3 separate regions of the Homo sapiens genome follow, and regions 2 and 3 are each linked to region 1. Evidence: promoter capture Hi-C in human tissues and cell types (Jung and others, 2019). All regions are on one chromosome and are shown on one strand. The core of a region is centred on a gene start or on the middle of the fragment in contact, and the rest is flanking DNA. Distances in the headings are between cores, read along the strand shown.

Evidence for each region. Contacts are between HindIII fragments. The study calls those that stand out against the background at their distance.
Region 2: a contact is called between a fragment that was not itself captured here and the fragment with the promoter of SEMA5A in region 1, in 1 of the 25 tissues and cell types used here (dorsolateral prefrontal cortex).
Region 3: a fragment that was not itself captured here is called in contact with the fragment with the promoter of SEMA5A in region 1 in 1 of the 25 tissues and cell types used here (dorsolateral prefrontal cortex).

What each region holds. Positions count from the first base shown.
Region 1 is chr5:9,544,132-9,548,272 of GRCh38, forward strand. SEMA5A (semaphorin 5A) reads right to left here and starts at 1,944. Exons shown (of 23, transcript NM_003966.3): 1 at 1,453-1,944. SNHG18 (small nucleolar RNA host gene 18) reads left to right here and starts at 2,069. Exons shown (of 3, transcript NR_045196.2): 1 at 2,069-2,399. RefSeq lists a silencer at 1,878-2,067. The HindIII fragment of the contact is 8,719 bases long and covers 1-4,141 here.
Region 2 is chr5:8,246,049-8,250,189 of GRCh38, forward strand. No RefSeq gene overlaps it. Among named protein-coding and RNA genes, the nearest start is that of LINC02226, 210 kb to the right of the region's middle. The HindIII fragment of the contact is 5,343 bases long and covers 1-4,141 here.
Region 3 is chr5:8,453,607-8,457,747 of GRCh38, forward strand. LINC02226 (long intergenic non-protein coding RNA 2226) reads right to left here and starts at 3,958. Exons shown (of 6, transcript NR_039984.1): 1 at 3,843-3,958. It overlaps MIR4458HG (MIR4458 host gene), which reads left to right and starts at 4,081. Exons shown (of 2, transcript NR_039989.1): 1 at 4,081-4,141. It also overlaps the pseudogene LOC100419318. RefSeq lists an enhancer at 3,671-3,770. The HindIII fragment of the contact is 4,185 bases long and covers 1-4,141 here.

The sequences.
Region 1 (4,141 bases), core at 694-3,193:
TATAATTAATAACATATCTGCTGATTCCAAACTCAGCCATTATGACAGAGCTCTTCTCGGTAAGCTAGACGTAAAACTTGTCTTTCTTCAAAACAAACCAGAACAATCATTTGTGACTCCTGATGTGTTAACTAAAGTACCCCTAAAAAGCAGAACGGTATTAAACAAAGCTCACGTTATCTTCCCTCAATTTCGATTTCTTTCTGAGTAAATGTAACAGTCACAAGGAAGGCAGATGCCCAGACAAGGAAGACTTTACAGCGATCTTTTTCTCTGGAAGAGACCTTTCTAGTTAGAGCATTTATGTCTGGCCACCACCTTTCCTGTCCCCTCTCCTAGCAAGGCTGACAGCTCTCTATAGCCACCAGATCAGCTCCCCCAACCCCCGGCCCCCAAAATGAAATTATTGCAAGATCTGCCTGGTTCTGCTGTTTGTTGCCTGGGACTCCCGCCCACTCGCCCAGGACCCAGCAACTGCCTGTGGCGCCTCGTCCTCCGAGCGCTCGCTCGCAGCGCCCCCTGCCGGGAATCCCGAGGACGCCGCAGGCGCAGGAAAGTTAAATCCCAACTCCGGCCGCGGCATCCTGGTACAAAGCAAGCAAAGGGCGAGGAGGTGAACGCGCTTCCCGCCAAAGCCAGGGGAACAGGGATGTGACCGCTCCAAGCCAGGCACCGGCCGCCGCGGGGAGCGAGCCGGGGGAATCACTCCTCCACGACCGTTCCCACGCACATCTTGGGAGAAACCATTCCCTCTGGAGCCCGATCTGCCCGAAACCCTGGGGTCTGAAACCCTGAGCCGCGGTGTGCAAAATCCGTGGAGCAGCGGAGGGATGCCTGGTGAAAGGGGCTCGCCTAGCTGCAGCGCACCTGGCTGGTGGTTCCCCAGGCCTCTGCATCCCCCGCCTTAGTGTCTTTCATTAACCAAGGCGCTTGGCGGAGTTGAGCCCAAGTCCCATTGCCTCCCGGTTCCCCTGTAAGGAAAGCAGGAAAACCTGCCCAAGCCGGTGGGGCTGCGAGGTGGCCGCTCCCGAACCGCCAAGTCCCGACCTCCGTGTCCCCTGCCCCCGGCTCGCGGCAGTGCGAGCCTGGAGGCGCGCCGGGGGCGGGCACAGACCAGTGTGCGCACCTTTCCGGGTGTTGGGCAGGGGTCCCGTCTCGCCCACCGCGACACTCCGGCTCCTTACCTCTCCATGCTCAGACCTCGGCACAGGCGGGTACACAAACTTCCAGCCCGTGCACTAGCTCAACTGTGGGCGCCCCCGGACTGACGGTCGTCCTAATCCTGTACGCGCAACCCCCGCCCAGGTGCCTGCTGATGGATCCCACCCGAGATCGGCACCACCCACCAGCCGACCGCTGCAGTCCCCGGGTCCCGGCCAGCGGCGCGGCGCGGCGCGGCGCGGTCAGGGGCTCCTGCCAAGGCCACGCAGGAATCGGGCGGGGGTCGCTCACCAGGTGCGAGGAGCGCTGGTGCCAGTCATCCAGCGCCTGGGGGCCAGAGCGGCTCCGAGGATCCTCTTCAGCACCTGGCTAGGGAAGTGGAGGCAGCAGCTGCAGCCGCCCCCTGCCACTTCCCCAGAGCCGCCCCCTACTCGCTGAGTTCCAGAATGGGGGCACCGGCTTGGGGGCCACGAGCACGGTCCCCGAGCGCGCGGCCAACCGGTGGGTGGGCAGGTTCGCGCCCAGCAGAGACGACCCTCGAGGTGGCAAAGTTGGGTGTCCAAGCCAGCTCCGCGGGGCAGTCCTGGGTGGGAGAAGGGAGCGTCCCGGGATGAGCGACACTGGCCGGGCCGCCCCTGCACGGGGAAGGTGGAGGGCCGGGGCTGCAGCGGGCCAAGGGCCGCGGCTGGCCTGAGGCTGCGAAGCCCACCCGCGGCGGGAAAGCAGCGCTCGGGAGCGGGCTCAGGGAGAGCAGCCGCCACCGGCGCCGCCTTCCCGGCAAGTAGATCGGCGCGGGGCGAGCGGGCGCGGAGAGCGCGGGGCGGAGAGCGCTGGGCGGGGAGCGGGGGACAGCCTGGGCCCACCCCCGCCCCGCCCCGCCCCTGCCCCGCCCCCGCCGCCGCGCCGCCTCCTCCTCCTCCTCCTCCCCGCCGGGGTGAAACTCGAGCGCCCCACCCGCGCCTGACCTCCCCGAGCCCCTCCCCGGGCCCCGCCCCTTCCCGGTACAGGACCCCCACCTTCGCTCCTGGGAGCCCCGCTGCACCCCAGGAGTTCCATTCCAGCCTCCCCAGTGCGAGTGCGGCCGAGCGCTGACTTTTGGGGGCTCCCTCCCCCGTCTCACTGGGTCCCTCTGCGGCTCCCCCGCCCGCTGTCCCGGTTCAGACGTGGCTGCACCCCGGAGGGGGGCGCCGGCCGAGACCTGAGACGTGGCGCTCCCTCTCTGCCGGCCTCGGCTTCAGGTACGTGCGGTTCCCTCGGCTAAATCTGGCCCGGGGGATGGGGGGCAGGGGCCGTCTGGTCCTCCGGAACTCGAACTTTGTGATTTTGTTCTTTCTGTGTGACATCCTCATCCGTTCTGAGGGAGAAACTCCTTAAAGAAGACGAGAGAGTCAGTCGTTGCGGGTTCTTGGAGGAGCACTTTGGGGGTGAGACTCCCGGCTAGTTCGGGTCGATTTCAGCGGGATTAAGTCAAGGAAATGAACAAATCTGACGAATCAGGGAGGCCAGAGAAGGCGTCCCCAGGTAGCCACGCTGAGCGTTAAGAGAGAAGTCCCGTATGGTCAAAGTCATTCGTCCAATTCTGTGTCAATTATTCCTTGTTGCACTTTTGCAGGATCCTTGGGCCTTACTAAGTACTCAGGTGAAAAGTTGATAATTGGGAAGCAAGTAAAGTACCTTTGAAGACGTGTATAATTGGACACTTTGTTGCAGTTCTTCAGTTTCTGGAGGAGGCGGTGGGGGGGGAGAGGGAGGGGGTCAGCCTCGCGAAAAGAGCAAATGGTAAAGTTATAGGAGTATAAGGCATAAAACTTGGGTTGGGAGTCCTGACTGGCCTTGAGTGGCCCTTTCCCACTGGATGGGGGTGCGGGACAGTATCTCTGGGCCCTTTTTACTCAGTCTGCGCCTCAGAGGGAGGCTTGAAGGTCCCCTGCATGAGGAAATGTGTGAATTGCCCCCTCCTGACCGCAGTGAGGTAGGGACCCCCGCAAGGACCCACGTTCACACCAGCGCCCTTCCAGCCAGTGGTGGGGTATGGATGGGCCTCGCTGGTCCTGGGCATGGTCCGGTGCGTCCATAAGGGTTCCATTGAGCTCATCCATAAAACAAAGAAGCTATTGCAGGCTGCAGGGTGTCATAGCTCGCACAGTAGCCATGCAGACCTAAGAGGACAATGGAAATACAAATTGCTATCGATGTGTCTTTATTTTCTAGAACTTTTTTTTAAAATAAAAGAATTAAGTGAAAGCAATTCCGAAGGTTTCTATGAAAGCCCAGCCCATCCCCAAATGCCCAGTCTCTGGCACGGGTGATCTGGCTGTCTTGGGTACTCAGGCCTTACTGGGATTTCCTTTAAGACCTCTGGGAGGAAGTGTCAGTAGCTGGGCAGGCCTTCTTGGCAAGCATTCCTCCCTGGGTTGTGGCGGGGGCTCCCGGCCTGCTGTGTGGCAGCTGCAGGCTCCTGGGGACCTGAAGGAAAAGCTTAACCGTTCTCCCTTCCCTTGCTTGGCACTTAGAGCACTAGTTCCATTCCAGACATTCCGATTATCTTGCCTACGTGGCACAGAGGCCTAGGAGCCTCCCTGGGAGGAAGAGGCAGGCCAAGGTCTTGCCTGGCTGCTTCTAGGGGGAAAGATGTAGGGAGGAAGCTGCCTTATGCTTGGATCTGCAGCCTTTGCCTGGACCTGTGGAGCCTACGTGGCCAGGGTGAGGGAGACAGAAATTAGAACCCAATGTATTCAGCTAATCCTCTTCTTGCCTCTGAACATTGCCGTTAATACTTGAAAAGAAAAAAAAAAAGCAAAAAAACTCTTGGCATATAGAGCTAAGCAGTGGGAAGAAGATAGCTTTCTAAACCATGACCCAATAGGTCTGATAACATAACATTTAACTGGATAAATTACATAATTTTGTATATATGTAGGGGGGAGTTGAATTCAGTTTTGCTGTTTACAGGCTGCACCAATGCATTGTTAAAAGATGT
Region 2 (4,141 bases), core at 1,017-3,516, 1.3 Mb before region 1:
ACTCAAGCTGCTCCATCTCACAGAATTGTTCCATGCGAAGGGCCAAGCACAATTTCCACAGAAGAAAAATACAATATTCCTGGCACATCAATTTCAGGGTTTATTCCTTGAATTTGTATTAAGGAAATGATGATGGACTAGCTTTCCCTAATCTAACCTAGCTGGTCTTAAGAGTCCTCTCTGGAAAGAACTCCCTGGATTTGTGGTGCCTTCTGGGGCATGCATCAGAATTTTCATCACTGAGAAGTAAATTGATCTGTGTGGGATTCAAATTTCAGAGCCTCCTTAGCCCTAGACTCCAACCCACCACGTGCAGATATGCATCAAAATGGACCTAAATTTGCTGAGAAAAGTGCTTGCAGTTTTCTTTCTAGTCCCATTTTGTTATATTATAGTCAGTCCCTGCACAATTTGAGATTGACAAACAAGCTTGTTTAGGAATATTTCGGTATGAGCATAAATAACAGTCAATATGGCCAGGAGCAGTGGCTCATGACTGTAATCCCAGCACTTTGGGAGGCTGAGGTGGGCGGATCACCTGAGGTCAGGAGTTTGAGACCAGCCTGGCCAACATGGGGAAACCCCGTCTCTACTAAAAATACAGCAATTAGCCGGGTGTGGTGGCAGGTGCCTGTAATCCCAGCTACTTGGGAGGCTGAGGCAGGAGTGTTGCTTGAACCCGGGAGGCAGAGGTTGTAGTGAGCCAAGACTGCGCCATTGAACTCCAGCCTGGGCAACAAGAACAAAACTCCGTCTCAAATAAAATAAAATAACAGTGAATACTACAACCCGATTTTCAAGGTGAGCACTGAATCTGGCACTGGAGGGGAGGGAACAATGTGTGAGGGATTATCATTAAATTGGACATACACTAATGGTCCATTTCAAGCAGCAGAAATTAATAAAAATCCTCTGAAATTTTTCTTAGTTAAAATTATACATTATTTTTAAAGAAAACAAAATCTATCCACGGGTTTTTCTCCAAGAGTAGTGCATATTGGAAACCTGAAATTCTGCTTAGCAGTGTTTTGTCTTTAGAGATGTTTTCCATAGGGAGAAGCCTAAATCTAACTTCTGGGATGTCAGATACATCCTTATTTATACAAAGCGTGTGGTTCATGAAGACAGAAGACATCTGTTTCACTTTATCCTAAGGCATTGGTTAGGGAATGCATTGTCTGGAGAATCGAGGGAGAGGCAGAGTCTTTATTTCATGGACACACTCTCATGATCTCATGACGTGAAAAGGTCACAGGCACTCAGCTCTCAGGGCCCTGTGCCACACCCAGAACCCAGATATCCCCTTGGAACTGGAAGATCACGTGGGGTCAGTCTTTCTGCTCCGGTGGAGATGGTGCCTCTGAGTTCCAGGGTACTTTCAATTAGAATAATATTTAAGGCATTTTCAGAGACCCACAGAGTCCTGCGTAGTGCCTGATAGAGAAGAGATTCACATCCTTGGTGGGATTCCAGAGGGTCAGCTTAGGAGAGAAGCTAGGAAATTTTACTCTGGATTTATCTGAAATTATTCAAATGTCAGTACTGCTGAAGATTAGAAAATAAATTGATGACATTACGGGCTGTGTATCAAGATTGATATTCTGGCATTATAATCTCCAATACCAACAGGTGGAGTAGTTGCTACACATTGGTTGATTTTTAAAGCTGATAGAGTAAAAATATTATGCTGCTATCGCTAATGTGGTGAAGAAAATGTGGGCATTGGTGACAATTTCTTGAAATCATCTTGTTTTTACATTCTGTGGCAAGTTCAGTCAATCACTTATCTATATCACTATAGCACCCCAGACCAAAGCAGTTGTCCAGGATGGTGACTGCCTTCCAGGAAGTACCACGACCTGAAGCCAAGTGGAGCTTCACAGGTCTTTGTTTTTAGCTGGATCACAGGTGGCTTTAATAATACTATAGCAAAAATAATCTCAAAACAGCTTTGAGCAATTCAGTGACAAAAATCCCCTTTATTACCAAATTCCATAACAATTCTCTCAAAATATGATTCAGTCCTTTCTCATTCCTATCATATAAGGAAATAAATAAAACAACATAAAAACATGAAGTCTTATTTTGAATCAGCCCTGTAACGCCCTTCCACTTCTTATATAAGATGCTATCTGAGGCCATGAAAATCATTTTTTATTGAGACAAAATGTAATAAGAAGTGTTGCCATGTTTGTCTGAACTCTCCATGTTTCCCTACATAACGACATGTGTTTTAATTCCCCCTCTGTGAAGCTATAAAGTCTCTTAGAATAATTCACTCAATATATCAGTAATTCTACCAATCCTCAAAGCCCACATACACGAGGGGCTAATTTTAGGTTAATTGTACTTCGTGTTGTGTGTAATGGCTTGTAGAAGAGAGTAGGGGCCTCTGTTGAGCACGCCAACTGTGCTGTGACCACATCTCCAGCTTTGCAGCCCTTCCCAGTGAAGAGAGCAGCAGGGACTGTGTCCTGCTCTTACATGAAGAAAATCATGAAATGTGCTCCCATGAGGCAGCTCTCTATAGGGATGAGGTGATGCTGGAGAATGCATCTCAGAAGTGACAGCAAAATGAGATTCTAACATCAGACTCCTGGCTCAGGTAGAAGTTCCACCCTGCCATGGCTGGAGCTTAGGCATCCCCACGGTGGAAAGGAGGTGGAGCGGGGGCAGTGGAGGACAGCAAGTGGTCCCTGCAGACAGCAGATCCTGAGAGATCAGTCTTACATATCAGAATAGTTTCTCCTACTTTCCCATACAGAGGAATGTATGAGCGGGAGGAGAGACACCATAGGATAGCTCCAAAGAGCCATCTTCACATGAAAGGAAACACCAAGGCAGGATAATAAATATTCACTCTCCCTTTCAGTATATTACCTACCCCCACCAATGTTCTCCAGCCTCCCATTCTCTCAACTCACTGGGGTTAAAGTAAAAGCTTGTGGTGACCTGGGATGTGGGCCTCTACCTGCTGTGAAGGGAAGAACAGTCCATCATGACAATCCTACTCTCAACTTCCTAACCTCAATCCCCTGGTGACTACCCTGTTTCCTGGAATATTTCACTTAGGTTTTCCCTGGAAACAGTAGTGGGCAGCATGGATTTGTCCCACACAAGCTCCTGAAATGGGTCTGAAAAATACAATAATTAAAATAACTTCGGACTTATACTGATCCAAAGTTAAAAAAAAATATTATTCTACTTCCCATTCCAAATACCATATTGTCAAAATAGTCCACCAGTGATTCTGTAAAGAGTTCCAATTACAACATTAAGAAACTCAACAATAAAATATATAAAAACATTTCAATGATAAAATTCTGACTTCAAATTTAAATCTTAAACCCCTCCCATTCTTAAAATTTTACAAAGACGTTAAAGTTCAAAGATTAAATCACCTTGAAAGTTAATTTATTTAAGTTAAGATTCATGTGCCTTGCTCCTTCAAGTTAACAGTCTAAAGAAATTAAATTCTAATTTCTTATTCTACTCAGTCTGATATCCAGGGATTTTGCTGCCTTTGTGAAAGTTTAGAAACGTCTTGTGGTAGATGTCTGAATTGTTAGGTCTAATTGGAGGTATTCCTTTTCCATTAAGGATCTTTGTTTCCATTTGCAACTGCCAGTAGCACTCCAGGACTGGCACTGATACTTTAAGCCTGGAACTCCCTAATGTTCTGTGCTCTGTGTTAAACCCACAATTCAGCCACTTTGCATTTTCAAAGGCACAAATACTGTTCTGTCCATCAATTCCTTAAAACCCAGTACACAGAAAAATTATTTCTTTACCCTCATTGCTTTCTTTCCTTGGTCGCACCTGCTCACTAAAGTCTGTATGGCTCACCAGTCTGTTGCTGTCCTGTGTGCAAGAGTATACGGATGAATGATATTGCCCTCATCATTTAAGTCAAGCAATAGCAACTTGCCTCTGGAGCCCTCACCATGTGGCACAGTCACGTCTCTTTTAAAGCCCACACTTACCCAAAGGCCCTAGTGGTGTTTTCTTGAGCTCTCAGCAGCCCTATCTTGGTTTAGTCCAAATAGTCCTCACATCTCTTGTGCTGGTTCAAGTTCTCCAAGAAGTAGACTGCAACACGGGGTGAGATGTGCAAGAGATTTATTGGGAAAATTTTCTACAA
Region 3 (4,141 bases), core at 821-3,320, 1.1 Mb before region 1:
AGTTTAACAATATTATGCATGAAAAGAATAAAAGTGAGGGAATCACGTATTTTCTAGTTTTCCAAACAAAATGCAGGTTTTCATGGCAAGTAATTGACTTTCCCAGGTGATTTTATTAATTGAAAACCTGAGGTACTAAAAGTTTATTCAGTCATACTTGTTTTATTGTACATTTTGTTTTATTGAGTTTCACAGATACTGTATTTTATATACATATATATATATATATAGAAGGGTTGTGGCAGCCTTGCATTGAGCAAGTCTATCAGCGCCATTTTTCCAACAGCATGTGTTCAGTTTGTGTATCTGTGTCACATTTTGGTAATCCTCACACTATTTCAAACTTTTTCTTGTTATTATATCTGTTATGATGATATGTGGCGAGTGATCTTTGATGTTACTATTATAATTGCTTGGGGGCACCAAGAGCCACACCCATAGAAGACTTTAAACTGAACTGGTAAATATGTGTGTTCTGACTGCACCAGCAACCAGCTGTTCCCCATCTCTCTCCCTCCCATTAAGTCTCCCTGTTCCCTGAGACACAATGTTAAAACTAGGCCAATTAATAACCCTACAGTGGCCTCTAGGTGTTCAAGTGAAAGGGAGACTTGCAAGTCTCTCACTTTAAATCAAAAGCTTGAAATGATTAAGCTTCGCAAGGAAGGCATGTCAAAAGCTGGATAGGTTGAAAGCTAGGCCTTTTGTGCCAAATGGGTAGCGAAGTTGTGAATGCAAAGGAAACGTTCTTGAAAAAAAATTAAAAGTGCTACCTCAGGGAATATAGGGATAATAAGAAAGTGAAACAGTCTTTCTGCTCATCTGCGGAAAGTTTTAGTGGTCTGGAGAGATTCAAACCAGACATATCATTTCCTTAAGCCAATGTCTAATCCAGGACAAAGCCCTAATTTTCTTCTTTTCTATGATGACTGAGAGACATAAGGAAGCTGCAGAAAAGTTTAAAGCTGGCAGACATTGGCTGATGAGGTTTAAGGAAAGAAGCTGTCTCCATACATAAAAGTGCAATGTGAAGCACCAAGTGCTAGTGTAGACACTGCCACGAGTTATCCAGAAGATCCAGCTAAGATCATTGATAAAGGTGGCTACACTAAACAACAGCTTCTCAGTGTAGGCAAAATAGCCTTATGTGGAATGAGATGCTGTCTAGGACTTCATCTGACATGCTTTATTGTGATATTCACTTTATTGAGGTGGTCTGGAACTGAACCCCCAATATCTCTGACATATGCCTGTAATTTGCAAGGGGGAAAACAACTTTTTGCTATTACATTCAAAATGGATTTTGAAAGAGTCAGTTTTCTTTTTTCTTTCTTTTTTTTTTTTTTTTTTTTTTTGAGACGGAGTCTTGCTCTATCGCTCAGGCTGGAATATAATGGCACAATCTCTGCTCACTGCAACCTTCGCCTCCCGGGTCCAAGCAATTCTGCTGCCTCAGCCTCCCAAGTAGCTGGGACTACAGGCACATGCCACCATGCCCGGCTAATTTTTGTATTTTTAGTAGAGATGGGTTTCACCACATTGGCCAGGCTAGTCTTGAACTCCTGATGTCGTGATCTGCCCACCTCGGCCTGCCAAAGTGCTGGGATTACAGGCGTGAGACACCACCCCTGGCCCAGGAGTCAGTTTTCTATATCACTTGACTTTCTTTGCTCAGAAAGTCCAGCAACATGTTGCTCTAGGTCTTTGTTTAAAAAAATGTTATTGTGCCCAAAGTATTTAAAAATTTCTAAGACTTAGTATCTATTTCCTTATTAGAACTAAGAAAAAGAGAGCTCACAGGTAGTGTCTGATCAAAAACCACAAGCTTGCTGCACACTTGGCCTATTTAGGATTCAAGTTAGAAACTGTCAACTGAGAGATGTTAATTATCTTCTTTTTAAAAGTTGCTTGTAGATCCACTGTTTTAGCCCAGAATATTTCATAAAATGACACTGATACGTTTTGAATATATGTCCCCACCAAATCTCATGCTGAATTTTAATCCCCAGTGTTGGAGGCGGGGGCTGGTGGGAGGTGTTTGGGTCGTGGAGGCAGATCCCTCAGGCTTGGTGCTGACTTCCTGATACTAAGTTCCTGCAAGATCTGGTTGCTGTAAATTGTGGCACCTCCCCACCACTTTTCTCTCTTCCTCCTGCTGGCCTTCCACCATGAATAAAAGCTCCCTGAGGCTTCCCCTGGAAGTCTAACAGATGCCAGCAGCATGCTTGTACAGCCTGCAGAACTGTGAGCCAATTAAACCTCTTTTCTTTATAAACTACCCAGTCTCAGGTATTTCTTTATAGCAATACAAGAATGGACTAATACAGACACATCATTTTTTTGTGTGTGGTAAATTCTTCCAATTTCTCACCTTGCATTCCCAGTGCTGCCCTAACTGGACCTGGGGAGTTTCATCATACTTTCTTCAATACAAAGATTGTGAATACCTATGAACTCTTTTAAGACAATTTGTATTCTGCCATCAGGCTTCCTAAGCTACCTTGTGGATCCACATGCAACAGAATCAGAACTTTCAAAGCAGTCACCAAACATGTAACTGACAACTTAAAAAAAAAAAATTCAAAATGAAATTAACAAGCACCAAGGGTGTTATTATTCTCTTATATTTCTTTTAGCAGCATTCCATCACTATCTGCTTCTTCCACTTCAGAAACCTGCAAAACTGCTGTAGAATATCAAGCAGTTGTTCTAGTGAAGTCAATTATTTTTTAGCTCACTGCAAAACATCTGTTGACCCACGTTTTAGTCTTCTGTTCACTCTCTTCCAAGTATGTACTTGGGAAAACAACAGGACATCAACCAGGCAAGCTCATTACCATTTTCCACAGATAAATCTTTACAGTCGGTGTGAAAAATCTCACCCTGAACTATGGTGGCTGTAGTGAAAAGAACCATGGACAGACACAAGTATGACTTGTGAACATGATTCATAAAGCACCCAGAGCCCCAGTGTGGCAACACCAGATGAATGAAAAAGGTTCTACCATGTTATCAAAATCATGTCATTCTCACTTTCCCTCAACAGTACCTAAATTTTAAAAAGAATATAAGCATAATGATGAAATACTACAAAAGTATCAATTGAGATCACACTGCACTCAATGAAAATTATCCATGTTTATGAAAATAAAGATCTGTATCCAAAAAAATAGCAAAGTGTCCACAATAAATTATAAACACCAGGACATCAGGGACATTGATCTCTATATCCCAAAGCCTAGAAAAGTGCCCAGCACCTAATAACAATACTAACTTTTGAACATTTCACCACGTGCCAGGCACAGTTCTGATATGCTCCATGTTTCAACTTAAGGCTTACAGGCCAGGCTTACAGGCCACCAGTGAATCTATAAAGTTTCAGTTTATATATGAGAACTGAAGCACGGGATTAGATAATATTCCGAGACAACACAAATTAGTAGCAGATGGGTTAAACTCAGGCCGCGCATGTCTAGAATATGCACACTTACATGCTTGTTGAAAAAACTGTGTTGATTAGTATCAAACTAGCTTTAGAAAATAGAAGTTAAAAAAGGCAATAGACTTTGGCAAATTATTTGAGTAAAACGTCAAATGTCAGATATGTCGAGGCATGGGTAGCCTTCTAAGGGGTCACGTCTATGGAAGGAAAAAGTTTGGCTTAACAAATAGGAAAGTGAGAAAAAGAATGAAACAGTAAAATAACAGGATCTCGTGATGGGGAAAAGGCGGCCTGCCCAGACCTAAACGCCTCGCGGCCTCGCAGGCGACGCGGGGATGACTCAGCAGGACAGAAGGGAGGGAAGCTCCAGACGCCACGGCCCTCTTCGAGATGAAAGTACCTCCCATCCTAAGGGACTGGCGTTCCAGGAACAGCTGCGCTGGCTGAGCCGGCTCAGTGAGGCGGAGCGGCCAAGCCTTCAGTCCACTCCCACTCCCCGATGAAAAACCCAAGACCGGGTAGCGCAGCCCCTCCGCGCACGCGTAACACGAGGAGACACCGCCCACACGCCAGACGCGCTGTGATTGGCCCCAGCTACCCTCGGACCGAGATTCCTATTGGTCCCAGGTGTCGAGCATGCGCACTTTGGTCGTGGGCGCGTGTGTGGAATGGGAGGAGGTCGCGCTGTCCATGGGCGTC